Linked DNA regions of Homo sapiens: region 2 is linked to region 1. The links are contacts of gene promoters, found by promoter capture Hi-C in blood cells and fetal thymus (Javierre and others, 2016). All regions are on one chromosome and are shown on one strand. The core of a region is centred on a gene start or on the middle of the fragment in contact, and the rest is flanking DNA. Distances in the headings are between cores, read along the strand shown. Region 1 holds the start of PARVG (parvin gamma). Region 2 holds the start of SAMM50 (SAMM50 sorting and assembly machinery component).

The links. The method cuts DNA at HindIII sites, captures the fragments that hold promoters and counts their contacts. A CHiCAGO score of 5 or more calls a contact.
Region 2: a contact is called between the fragment with the promoter of SAMM50 here and the fragment with the promoter of PARVG in region 1, in 4 of 17 cell types (total B cells, monocytes, naive B cells and 1 more). The highest score is 9.3, in total B cells.

The regions. Positions count from the first base shown.
Region 1 is chr22:44,175,642-44,182,174 of GRCh38, forward strand. It overlaps PARVG (parvin gamma), which reads left to right and starts at 5,284. Exons shown (of 14, transcript NM_022141.7): 1 at 5,284-5,544; 2 at 6,101-6,276. RefSeq lists silencers at 4,545-4,594, 5,765-5,894 and enhancers at 5,271-6,001, 6,002-6,533. The HindIII fragment of the contact is 15,489 bases long and covers 1-6,533 here.
Region 2 is chr22:43,953,498-43,960,132 of GRCh38, forward strand. It overlaps SAMM50 (SAMM50 sorting and assembly machinery component), which reads left to right and starts at 1,945. Exons shown (of 15, transcript NM_015380.5): 1 at 1,945-2,101. The coding sequence starts at 2,081. It also overlaps the pseudogene RPL35AP36. RefSeq lists enhancers at 1,170-1,922, 1,590-1,639, 1,720-1,799, 1,923-2,674, 2,480-2,689 and a silencer at 1,763-2,037. The HindIII fragment of the contact is 6,277 bases long and covers 1,096-6,635 here.

The DNA.
Region 1 (6,533 bases), core at 4,034-6,533:
TGAGTAGTGGGAGCCTGCTGTGTGCCGCTGAGGCGTTGGGTGTGGGGGGGTGGGGGTGTGCTAGGGCACAGGAACCAGGAGAGAGTGGAGTGGCAGGTGGACAACACAGTGAGGCCGATGAAGAAATGCAGCTGGGGGCAGGTCTGGGACGAAGATGGAGCAGAGGGCTGCATCTGGGCATAGAGGCGGGTAAGGAGGTCTCTGACACCAGGGAAATGGGGCAAAGGCCACATATTCTTCCAGTCCCCAGCCCCTCGGATTTAGGTGGCCATGTGGCTGGTCCTAACAGCCGGGACATGGTCACACCGGACAGCTTTTAGGAAAGACTGTCACCTTAAAGTATGCAACACCTTTGTGGATGTTTGGTGTGTTTTCGAAACATCCACACAGGGTTCTGATGTTCTCGATGGCTTTGGAATGTAGTGCTAGATTTCCTCCCACAATCTCATTCTTAAAATGTATTGCCAAGGTGAGCCTGAAACACTGTGCCGGAAAGCAGGGAAGCACAGTTGTCCCTGGTATCCTCTGTGGAGTGAATCCGGGACCCTGGAGGATACCAAAATCTGAAGATGCTCAAGTCCCTGATATCAAACTGCACAGTATTTGCATATAACCTACGCACATCCTCCTGCATACTTTAAACCAGCTCTAAATTACTTATGATACCTAATACAATGTAAATGCTATGTAAATAGTTGTTACACTGTATCACTTAGGGAATAATGACGGAGAAAAATTCTGTATGTGTCTGGTACAGATGCAATTTTTTCTTGATATTTTTAATTCGTGGTTGGTTAAATCCATGAATGTGCAACCAAGGATATGGAGGGCCAACTGTACTCAAGGAATGATGGGGACATGTCAAAAGGACAGAGGCACAAACAGCGTCCACATTTTGGATACTTCAAGCATCTGAAGGAGCAATGTGGAGTATAACACATTGGATTTTTTTTTTTTAATTCGTGCACTTAGAGTGATATTAAACTAGGATGAGAGCAAAGGCTTTTTTTTTTCTTTTAACATTTTACTTTTATATAGTTTCAAACCCGCAGAAAAGTTGCAGGAATACTACAAAGAGTTCCTATGTGTATTAATCCATTCTCATGCTGCTAAAAGAGACATACCCAAGACTGGGTAATTTTAAAAGGAAAAAGGTTTAGTGGACTCACCGTTCCACATGGCTGGAGAGGCCTCACAATGATGGTGGAAGGCGAAGGAGGAGCAAAGGCATATCTTACATGGCGGCAGGCAAAAGAGTGTGTTTAGGTGAACTGTCCTTTATAAAACCAACCAGTCTCATGAGACTTATTCACCATCATGAGAACAGCATGGAAAAACCCGTCCCCATGATTCAGTTACCTCCCACCAGGTCCCTCTCATGACACGTGGGGATTATGGGAGCTACAATTCAAGATGAGATTTGGGTGGGGACATAGCCAAACCATATCACTATGTTTACCTGGAGACTCATGAATGTTAACATTTTTACTTTATCCTCTTCACTCTCTTTCTGTCCCTGCCTATCTGCCTCTCTCGATATAATAATAATGATATATATTTCTTTAGACGCACACATTTACCTGGTGATATATATATTTTCTGAATCTTTGAGGGTAAGTTGCATGCATTATATCCTCTTCACCTCTAAATACATCAGTGTAGCTTCCTAAAAGTGAAGACATTCTCTTCCATAATCTCAGTATGTGTCATAATCAGGAAATAACATTGATACAATGGCATTGTCTAATCTACAAACCTTAATTGTGTTTTTTTCCAATTGTCTCAATGATGTCCTTTATGCCAAAATAAGAGGCAGGACAAGGCATTGAATGAGTTGTCCCATCTCTCCAGCCTCCTGTAGTCTGGAGTGGCCCTTCAGTCTTTCCTTATGTTTCATAGCCTTGATTCTTTGGAGAATCCAAGCCAGTTATGTTCCAGAATGTCTTGCAGCTTGGATTGATCTAGTATTTTCCTCGTTATTAGATCCAGGTTATGCGTTTTCGGTAGAAGTGATGTGTTCCTCTCAGCGCATCATTACCAGGAGACATGTCATGTTGATTGTTTTACTTTCTTATGATGTTAATTTTGATTACTTAGCATGTGAGCACACGTCTGTGGTCCCAGTTACCCAGGAGGATCACTTAAGCCCAGGAGTTCAAAGCCGCAGTGAGCCGTGATCACACCACTGCACTCCAGTCTGACAGAGTGCACTGTTTCTATTTTTAAAAAATATATATTACTTAGTTAATATAGTGTTTATCAAATTTGTACACTAAAAAATGTAACTCTTCTTTGTAATCGATCAATATTTATGAGGAAAGAATTTTCACTTTTGGAGTTACCTTTCCATCAGGAATAACTAGAAGCCTCCACAAAACACAGGAAACAGTTACTTCAGACATTGGACATGCCTTTGCTCCCCCTTCACCTTCCACCATGACTGTGAGGCCTTCCCAGCCATGGTGGAACTGTGAGTCCATTAAACTGTCTTTCTTTATAAATTACCCAGTCTTGGGTATGTCTGTTTTAGCAGCATGGAAATGGACTAATACACATAGGAACTCTTTGTACTTTCCTGCAGCTTTTCTGTGAGTTTGAAACTATATAAAAGTAAAATGTTAAGAGGCGAGTCAGATCTGTGATCCCCAAGAAAAGGGTGGCAAGTGAGGTGAGCCCTACCCTGGTCTTGGCTTTCTGCCTGGACATAATTCCTGGACTGTGCTGTAGTGAGGGGGACCCAGACAGAGCCAGGTCTCACTGATTTAAGGAGACAAAGATCAGAGCTTGCAGAGATTACGCTTATTAAAAACAGACATCAAAAGAATATTTCTGCCAGAAAAATTCCAACACTTCTTAAAGAAATGCAACAAAATTCAGCACGCGACGACATAAAAATTTAATGTCTAGCATTCAATAAAACATTATTATAAAGAAGCAGGAAACTGTGACCCACAATCGGGAGAAAAATCAGTCCACAGAAGCAGACCAGGAAATGACAGAAGTGATAGATTCTACAGGACAACTGACCTGGATGTTTAAAAAATGTTAGTGTCGTGAAAGATTGTTCTAGATTACAGGGCTCTAAAGAGACATGAAAACCAAATGCAATCACATGTGCTGTGTGATGCCTGAATGGATCTTGGATTAAAAAAAATACAGCTGTAATAGACATTTTTTGAAGCCTTGGTGAAGTTTGAATGTGGATGAGATATTAGAAAACCTTCTATCAATGCTAATTTTCTTAGGTATCATAATGGTACTGTGTTATGCAGGAGAATGTTTTTAGGAGAAACATTCTGAAGTATTTAGAGATATCCCTAAAGTGATGTGATCCCTGCAATTTATTTATTTTTTATTAATTTTTAAAAATTTTAGTTGTGGTTAAAAATACACGTAACATAAAATGTACTGTCTTAACTATTTTTAAGTATACAGTTCAGTAGTGTTTGGCATATTTGCACAGGTATATTTCACACCGTGTCTCTGAAAAAAAAAAAGGCTGGAATAATTCCCTTCTATCCATGCCTTTCTCTTAATTGGGGTTTGGGGGTGCTTGGACTTATCTCCATGTTACTCTTCCAATTCTTAGAGTCCCTCTCTTCCCCTAAACAATGCTCTACACACAAGAGGCTTTGTGAGTTGTGGATTTAGTCTGTTGTAACTCCACACCATACAGGATTAGATTTCGCATCTGATTCTTACATCAGCCCTGCAGCCCCAAGAGATGAGAGATAGCTTTGAGGGCTATCAGAGAACTCCCTGTATTCTGCACATACCTTGAGCTGAGAATGTAAAGCCCTGGGACTGTCCTTTTCTTGCTTTAAACTCTTTGGTGTGATGATAACAAGCTCACCCCACAGTCCTTAGATAACCTGTGCTCGTATTGCGTATGGAAGCCACAACTCTGCCAAAGCCACAATTTAATAGGTACTTCGTTCTGAGTGATGACAGGTAATTATTTTGCCATCACAGGCTACGATCTATTAGAACTCCATTCTCTAACAGTTACTAGGTCCCCACTGCCTTTAAATCAACCAGAACAAGTAACCAATCCCAGTTCCCATCCTGGAGGTCGTGTTGCCTGCAATTGTTTCTGGTAACAAATCCGAAGTTAATTGGGATTCAGTTGCCGATGATTAGAGTCTCTTCAGTTGTTTGGAGGAGAAAGGAATCTAACATAGGAAGCTGTGTGATTCTCAAGCTGTTGGAAGGCTGGAGGCAGCGCCTCCAGCAAGGACTCTTGGAAGAATACTGCAGAGCTGGCTCCTGAAGGAAGCTGCCGAGTCAGGCTGGCCCTAGAAGCATGCTTTCTGGGTTGAATGCTTTAGGTTCACCTCTGCAGATCCACTCCCCACCATTTTCTCTCCTCACATCTATGGGCCGCAGCAGGGGACTTCTTTTCTCTGGCTTCTGGCTGGATGTGGGCAGGGGAGGCCCTGGCAGGAGGGAGGAGAGTGAGGCTTGGTCATTGATTCCTCCAGCTGTGCCCTTCTGCTGGTTCACCATGAGCTGGCTGTGTCCCTCTACCAAAGGCCACAGCTCCTATCCCGAGGCCCCTCTTAGAGCTTCAGTGATTCTGTTCCTGGGCTCTGCCACCCACTCCCTCCTTCACCCTCTAGGTTTTGAAGAAGTAACAGCTCCCCATGTTGCTAGCCTGGGGTGTAGCACTGTCTCTTCTGGGTTCCTTTAACCCTGCCCCAGCTGTCCCTTTATTAAACAGTCTTCAGTTAGCACATGGGAATATACCGTCTCTTTGCTGCTGGGACTGTGACTGCTGCTACATCTATGTGGCTGTGATCCAGAGTCAGAAGCCACCACCAGAACCACTGTGTCCAGAGCTGGGCTGAGCCTGCTACACACGCCCCAGCAAAATAGGTCCTGCACGGTGGCTTCTCTCCCCACCTGTTACAAGCCCCAGTCTAGCACGGGCACTTCAGAATGGCAGGGACTGACTCATGTGCCTCAGTGTCTTCCTCTGTAATATGGGGGTGATGATTGTACCTACCTCACAAGGAAGTTTCCAGTAAAATGAAAGCCCTTAAAATTATGTTTGTTTCATCACCAATGACTCCATAAATATTAGCAACAATACCAGTACTAAGTTTTGTCATTTTTTATTAACTTCTTGTAAACGACCCTACTTTCCTGCTCTCACACACTCCTTACACCTGCATCCCACCTGATTTAGCCACTTTCTGCCTAACCTGTCAGAAAGGGTAGATAGCTTCCCAGTCACCTGTTGCTAGGGAAACTCACCATTTCAGCCCGGATGGTGAAGATTCCAGCTTGAGAGACCAGCTCGGGTCTGAAGTGTTTCTCTATCTACTGTGCTGAGATCTCTCCTTCTCGAACCCTGCTATGCCTTTGCATACGCTGTTTTCTCCACCTGCCACGTTCTCACCCCTTCTTCTTCCACTGCAAACTCCTATGCAGCCGTCAAGGCCCCATTCTCCTCTGGAAAGCCTTCCCGATCCCCTTGGCAACAACCACCACCAATATTTATTCACTGAGCCCACTTTGTGCCAAGCATTGTTCTAGACACGGGTATGTAACCGCGATTGAGAGAGACAGACCACGCACAGCCTGGATTTTATTTTAAGAGCTATTGGGTGCCGTTGGTGGGTTTGAGTGAGTGGGGTCAGGAAGTGACTCACTCCTCCGAGGGCTTGTGGGAGCCTCAGCTCAGGGGCGGGCAGGGGGCGTGGGGAAGTCTGCAGCCGAGAGTCCAGGTAGGAGTCTCCTGCGTGGTCCCGGGAGAGGAAGGGGCCTGGCCCGGGGCGGGGTGTGGAGGTGGGAGGACGGCGGTGCGGGATGGAGGGTGGAGGCCAGGCTGACAGGGTGCTGGTGGTGGGTTGCGGGGGTCGACCCCAGGCTCTGGCCTATGTAGCTGCCATTTTGGAGGTGAACAGCCTGCGGGGAAACTGGCATGGTTTGGGGAAGGCGGGGAGAGGGGGAGAAATGAAAGCATTGAGTTTAAGTGGCCTGCAGAACCCCGGGGGCCCAGGCGGCACGGCGGGCGCTGGGGCTCCGGGCAGAGCTTTCTGGAGGTTTGTGGCAGCTTCACTTTCACGGCATCCACCCCCCTCGGGCCCTGCCGCAGAGAGGAGGAAGCTCCTGCCGGCTGAGCGGGCCTGGAGGAAGTGAGCAGCGGGGCTCCTGCCTCCCGGCCTGGTCCCCGAAGACCCCAGAAGAACCCGGAACTTGCTTCCATTCGGAATCCAGGGACCACCCTTTGCACTCAGTAGGCCTTTGTTTTCCTGCGTGGAAAGCGGTTGGGTGAGTTCTGGCATCGGGGCCACCATACTTGAGTGTTGGGGGTCACGGAGGGAGGGGCCCAGACACCACCTGGGAAGGATCCCAGAGTGCAGTCCCAGCCCAGGCCACCCGGGGAAGGGAGTCGGTAAAGTGGGACCTTGAGTCCCCACGGCCCCTCCGGCTGCCCCTGCTCAGAGGCTGCTCGGCGTCCTCCCTCCCTGTTCTACTGAGGAGTTGCCGCCTCTGAACTTCAGCCAACCCCTCCGTCTCCAGGTGAA
Region 2 (6,635 bases), core at 695-3,194, 230 kb before region 1:
TCTTGTGCCCAAAAGAGGAGCACAAGAAATACTGTTGAATAGCATTGCCAGAGGCCACAGAAAAATCTCCAAAACCAAAAATCTCTATGACCCAATAAATTCAAGAAATACTGGGTTAAAGAGAAGGAAACCAGTATATGCACTGTGAGACTTCTCAGTCTTTATTATATACATTGTAACCATCACAGACAGCCTTTAATATATACATCTTAACTATCACAGACAGCCTTCAGTATATTATATACATTATAACCATCACAGACAGCCTTCAATATATTATATACATTATAACCATCACAGACAGCCTTTAATATATACATTATAACTATCACAGCCTTTAATATATTATGTACATTGTAACTATCACAGCCTTTAATATATTATATACATTGTAACTACCACCGCCTTTAATATAGTATACCCATTGTAACTATCACAGCCTTTAATATACACATTGTTAACTACCACAGACAGCCTTTAATATATTATATACATTGTAACTATCACAGATAGCCTTTAATATATACATTGTAACTATCGCAGACAGCCCTTTGTTTGAGGGTAAAGCATGTGACTTTGTTTTCCTCCTGTTCCCTCTGCCATCCTCCAGGGCCTCACACACAATAGGCTCTCAAATATTGCAACCATCTTGCACTCTGCAGGGCAACCTCATGGCTTATCCTTTACAAGTGGCATACTCAGAAGAATAACGAGGAAGAAAGTGTAAGAAAAGAGGGCTGTTTGGGCAAAGAAAATCTGGTTGATTCGATGTTTACAGAGTGCCAGGCCCCATGCTTGATCTCATGAGGTCCTCAGACCTTATGCCTTAGGCTATCATTTCCATTTTACAGATAAGGAATTGAGGCTCAGGGAACTGAGAGTGAGGGAAGGGCAGGGGCCTGGCTGGTGCTGGGTTCTGTCTCTTTCCAGGCAAGAAGGGACATGTGGACTTGAATATTTAGCTCAGGGATGTTGGAGGCCTAGGGTGCTGCTATTTAAATGGAAAGGGTGTCAGGGTTTCTGGGAGGGAGTAAGGGGACAGAAGAAAAGATGCTTCTGTTATCAGAAGGGAGTGGCAACGTGACAGGATACTGAAGCTTCCTCTTTTCTTATTCTGTCTCGTTTCTTTCAATATACTTATCACAATGTGTGGCTGATATTTATTATGCCTTTTTCTTTTCTATTCTCTTTTCTTTTTTGGGGCAGGGGAGCTGTTTTGCCACCAAAACCTAAGCCCATGGCCGTCTTCTTCACCGATATGACTGGTTCTCATGCAAGCACCTAGATGGCCCTCGCCCATAATTACTGGCTGCAGTTGAGTGAATAGCGGTCATTATCTAGCGCCCACCGTGTGCCCGGCCCGGTGCCGGGAGCTTTGCTTTCCGTCTCTCACATTAGGCCCTTTTAATCCAACCCCCAAGAAGGAGACACGACCATCGTCTTCATTTTGACGATTTTGAGTGGGGGTTCCAATGACTTGAACGAAAGGAGCCAGGGCACCAATCCGGGTTTGTGTAGCAGATGCCGGTGAGACCCGACTACTGCAGCTCGGGGGTGGCCGGACCCGGGGTCTCCCCGCTGAGTCTCGGGGCTTCACCGGCGCGTGGGCACAAGCACAGCACCCTCGGGTCGGGGGTGCTAGGAGGGCTAAGAGCAGCAGGACTTGAGTGACACCCAACAGCTGGTCTGATCTCTTTCAGGCGCCAACGCCAGACGCCAGCCTCCCAGCGGACCCTCTCGCAGACCCACCTTCACCCCACGCGCCCTCCCCACACAGTCCACGCGCCAGCAGCTTCGCGGATGTCAGTGAACGCTCTTCGCTTGCGCAGTCAGAACGTCCTCCGCGGCCGTGTGAACATCCGGGTCACAGGCGCATAAGGACCAATGAGCGAAGGCATCGCGAGCCAGGGGGCGCGGAGAAGGCGGGGAATCATGGCCGCCCCCAGTGTTCCGCGTCCGGGGGTTTGTGGGAGTTGCCTTGACCTGCAGCTCCGCCACCGCGGACCCGCCTTCTGCCCTCAGCAGCAGACGCTCTGTCCCGCCCGGGCAGCTCTGCGAGGCAGCGGCTGGAGAGGGAACCATGGGGACTGTGCACGCCCGGGTAAGAGGCCCAGCGACCCGCGGGCTGCGAGGCCTCTGGGCCAGCAGGGCAGACGGGCGCCGCGGGGAGACGCTCTCGTGGCTGCGCCCAGGGTTCACCGGGAGAGAGGGTGCCAAGGGTGCCGGGCTGGGTGGAGGAGGCCGAAAAGAGGTCGCCTCGGGCCAGCGAGTCTTGCAGACCTTCGAGCAGGAACCTGATAGGAGGGACGAGACTTGGCTAAAGGTCACTCGGCGAGTCCGTGGCCCAAAGGACTTGCCAACTTTCTGTGATGTCTTAGACCGCAGTGAATGTGCTCTTTCTTTGCATGATTTTAAGTTTTCTCTCTTTACTGGTCACTTCCAGCCTTTCCCCGCTCAGCCGCTGCTGGAGCCATTGTAGGCTCCTAGAGCAACAAGAATCCTTTGAAGTCTTCTAACTCAAACCTATCTAGGGGTCCTCTTTTCTCCTGTCTACCGTGCAAAAGACGGAACCGCTCTCTGCCTTACTTCCTGTTTTAAAGTGGAGGTAGTAATAGTACCTACCTCGCCTGGCTTAAAAGAGAATTAAAAGACAATGCATGTGAATACTTGGGTGCCTGGCGCCTGACTAACTGTACTGGTTGCCAAACTCCTCTCGTTTATCCTAATCTTAAATAAGGGCCAGATAATGAGTTACTTCTCCAAGGTCACATAGTTACTGGTTCCAAATGGCCTAAAACCTCAGATTTCCTGAGTCTCAGCCCCAACACTACTTTTCTACTGCAACTTTGATTGCTTCACTTGACCTGCATAGACGTTTTCAGTAGTTCCCCATTAACTTCCAAAAAAATTTAGCACAGAAGTCGCAGCCTGACATCGATAATTGGACTTAACTTCCCTTTATATGTCTTTCATTCAGATCAAACACCGTTTCTCTTCTGACATCTCTTTGTGTAACTGTAATAGGTCTGTTGCTCAGTGTGCTCGATAAGTCAATACACTCAGACAGTGGGTTGCAGCAGAGAAAGAGTTTCAGTTGCAGGGCCGCTGAACGAGGAGATGGGAAAAGAGAGGAAACCTCAAATCCATCTCCTTCAGGAGTTTGGACCTCATGTTTTTGCTGAAGTGTGGAGATCCTTGATTGGTGGAAGAGTGAAGGGTGAAGTTATGGGACAGGGAGATGAGGAAACTTCTCATGCTGATTCCGTTCCTCTGTTGCGGGGAGGAGTCTTCAAACTGGTTGGCAGCATCAGTTTTGCTGGAATTCGAGATCTGAAAAACATCTAAAGCAACTCTTAAGCAAAAGCCTTATGATTCTAATTTTAGAAATCCTATCTGTAAAATCAATGGGGATGCAAATAGTATCTGTGACTTTTGGTTACTAGCAAGTAGGTCAGAGTGCAACCTGAGCTCTTCCTGCCATCTTGGCTCCTGTGGCGGCCTGCCGGGAGCAGGACTTCTGAAAGGAAATATGTCTGGAAGGCTGTGGTCCAAGGCCATTTTTGCTGGCTATAAGTGGAGTCTCCGGAACCAAAGGGAGCACACAGCTCTTCTTAAAATTGAAGGTGTTTATGCCCGAGATGAAACAGAATTCTATTTGGGCTCATGTATACAAAGCAAAGAACAACATAGTGACTCCTGGCGGCAAATCAAACAAAGCCAGAGTAATCTGGGGAAAGGTAACTCGGGCCCACAGAAACAATGGCATGATTCGTGCCAAATTCTGAAGCAATCTTCCTGCTAAGGCTGTTGGACACAGAATCCGAGTAATGCTGTACCCCTCAAGGATTTAAACTAATGAAAAGTCAATAAATCAATGTGGATTTGTGCTCTTGAAAAAAAAAAGGCAACTTGATTAATGGTTAATTGTAACTACATTTCTTTTGAGATGGAGTCTCACTGTGTTGCCCAGGCTGGAGTGCAATGGTGCAATCTCCACTCACTGCAACCTCCGCCTCCCAGGTTCAAGCGATTCTCCTGCCTCAGCCTCCCATGTAGCTGGGATTATAGGCGCACGCCACCACACCCAGCCAATTTTTGTATTTTTAGTAGAGACGGGGGTTTCATCATGTTGGCCAGGCTGGTCTTGAACTCCTGACCTCAAGTGATCATCCCGCCTCGGCCTCCCAAAGTGCTGAGATTACAGGTGTGAGCCACTGCGCCCAGCCAATTATAACTACATTTCTGTCCAGATGTCCAGAATAATTTTTTTTGTTGTTGTTGAGACAGAGTCTTGCTCTGTGCCCAGGCTGGAGTGCAGTGGCACGGTCTTGGCTCACTGCAAGCTCCACCTCCCAGATTCACACCATTCTCCTGCTTCAGCCTCCTGAATAGCTGGGACCACAGGCGCCTGCCACCATGTTCGGCTAATTTTTTGTATTAGTAGAGACGGGGTTTCACTGTTAGCTAGGATGGTCTCGATCTCCTGACCTTGTGATCCGCCTGCCTCGGCCTTCCAAAGTGCTGAGATTACAGGCATGAGTCACCACGCCTGGCCTTTGTCCAGAATTCTTGTTAGCCCTGTGAGGATGGCTTTATTTGGACCGCACTATTGCACTTCATTCCCCCTCCCATCATCCATCTTTAGCATCAAAATATTCCCATCTTTTAGAACTCCGTTCTGAAAGTTCTTTATCCCCTGCATTTGGATGGGCTTCGCCTTTCCGTGCCATTTCCTTTGGTGCCATTTACATTTTGGCTTGTTTTGGGTCTGTTTGCATTTTCGTCTTATCCTTTGATCCTAAATTTCTAGATGTAATGGTAGGAACTGCATCTTCTTGGCTTGCATCCCCTGTGGCATCTTGAACAAAGTAATCACTCATTATTTATTCAGCTCATATTTATTGATGGTCTGCTATGTGCCTAGCACTGTGATAGGTGCCAGGGATACAGGGAAAAAAGTATCTGCCTTTATGGAGCTCTTTTTTTTTTTTTTTTTTTTGAGGCGGAGTCTTTCTCTGTCACCCAGGCTGGAGTGCAGTGGCGCCATCTCGGCTCACTGCAACCTCTGCCTCCCGGGTTCAAGTGATTCTCCTGCCTCAGCCTCCCGAGTAGCTGGGACTACAGGCGTGTGCCATCACACCTGGCTAATTTTTGTATTTTTAGTAGAGACAGGGTTTTGCCATGTTGGCCAGGATGGTCTCAATCTCCTGACCTTGTGATCCACCCGCCTCAGCCTCCCAAAGTGCGGGGATTACAGGCATGAGCCATTGCGCCTAGCCTGTGGAGCTCTTTTTACATTAAAATTGCTGCTGCTTTGATGAGTGTTTTGAGAAAAAAACGTTTTCAGTTCTTTTATTTGACTTTTTCATCCCACTAGCCAGTGTCTTTCAGACTTTTTGATCAAGACTCAAACAGTAAGAAAACATTTGCCATTTACCACCTAGTACTCATGCTTATGTCAAACAAAATTTTGTGCAATAATACTTAATATGTGTTATGTATTGTTATATTTTCAGTTTTCTTTTTTTTTTTTTTTTTTGAGATGGAGTCTTGCTCTGTCTCCCAGGCTGGAGTGCAGTGGCGTGATCTTGGCTCACTGCAACTTCTGCCTCCTGGGTTCAAGCGATTCTCCTACCTCAGCCCCCTGAGTGGCTGGGATTACAGACAGGTGCCACCACACCCAGCTAACTTTTGTATTTTTACCTGAGATGGGGTTTCACCATGTTGTCCAGGCTGGTCCTGAACTCCTGATCTCAGGTGATCTGCCTGCCTCAGCCTCCTGAAGTGTTGGGATTACAGGTGTGAGCCACTGTGCCCAGCCTGTTGTTATATTTTCTCTTGGATTCTAGTCTATCTCACTTTAAAGATGCTGTTCATAACTCATTCATTTCATGTCCCATACCCGCTGCCTTGCACATGGTGCTCAATACACACTTATTGACTGACTGGTAGACCGATCTGCTTAAAGGTTAAAGGCTACATCCAAATATTTATTTTATTTTTTTATATTACACACACACACACACACACACACACACACACACACTTTTTAATAGAAACAGGGTCTCACTATGTTGCCCAGGCTGGTCTCAAACTCCTGGGCTCAAGTGATCCTCCTGCCTTGGCCTCTCAAAGTGCCAGTGCTAGGTACAGACATGAGCTACTGTGCCTAGCCCAAATATATATTTTAGCGCATTTTACCAAACACTCACCCCATGCCTATTATTCTAGGCATAGAATTTATGGGATGTACATTCTATGAGGGTGAGGTTCTTATAAGTGCTTGTCACACAGTAGGATCTTAATATTTGGTGAATGAATGAATATTAGTAACACAGTTACTAATATTTTGATTAAAGTATATTTACAGGGTATTAATCCTATAATGACTTTAGGGTTTAGAGATAATAGAAAAATAGATGTAAGATGTATGAATAGGTATAAGAGGTTGTAACTGTGAAACTTCAATGGTGTCATCTCTTGAAGTCTGGATTTTAGATTAAAGAATACGGATGGACCTGGAAGATCTTTGGTGAACCTTGTTTCATGCTTGGAGATTTTAGAAAGTGCAGTGGAATTTTTTCAGCGTAATGGGATATAAACCTTTGCCTAGATAAAGCATTTTTGCTAGGCAT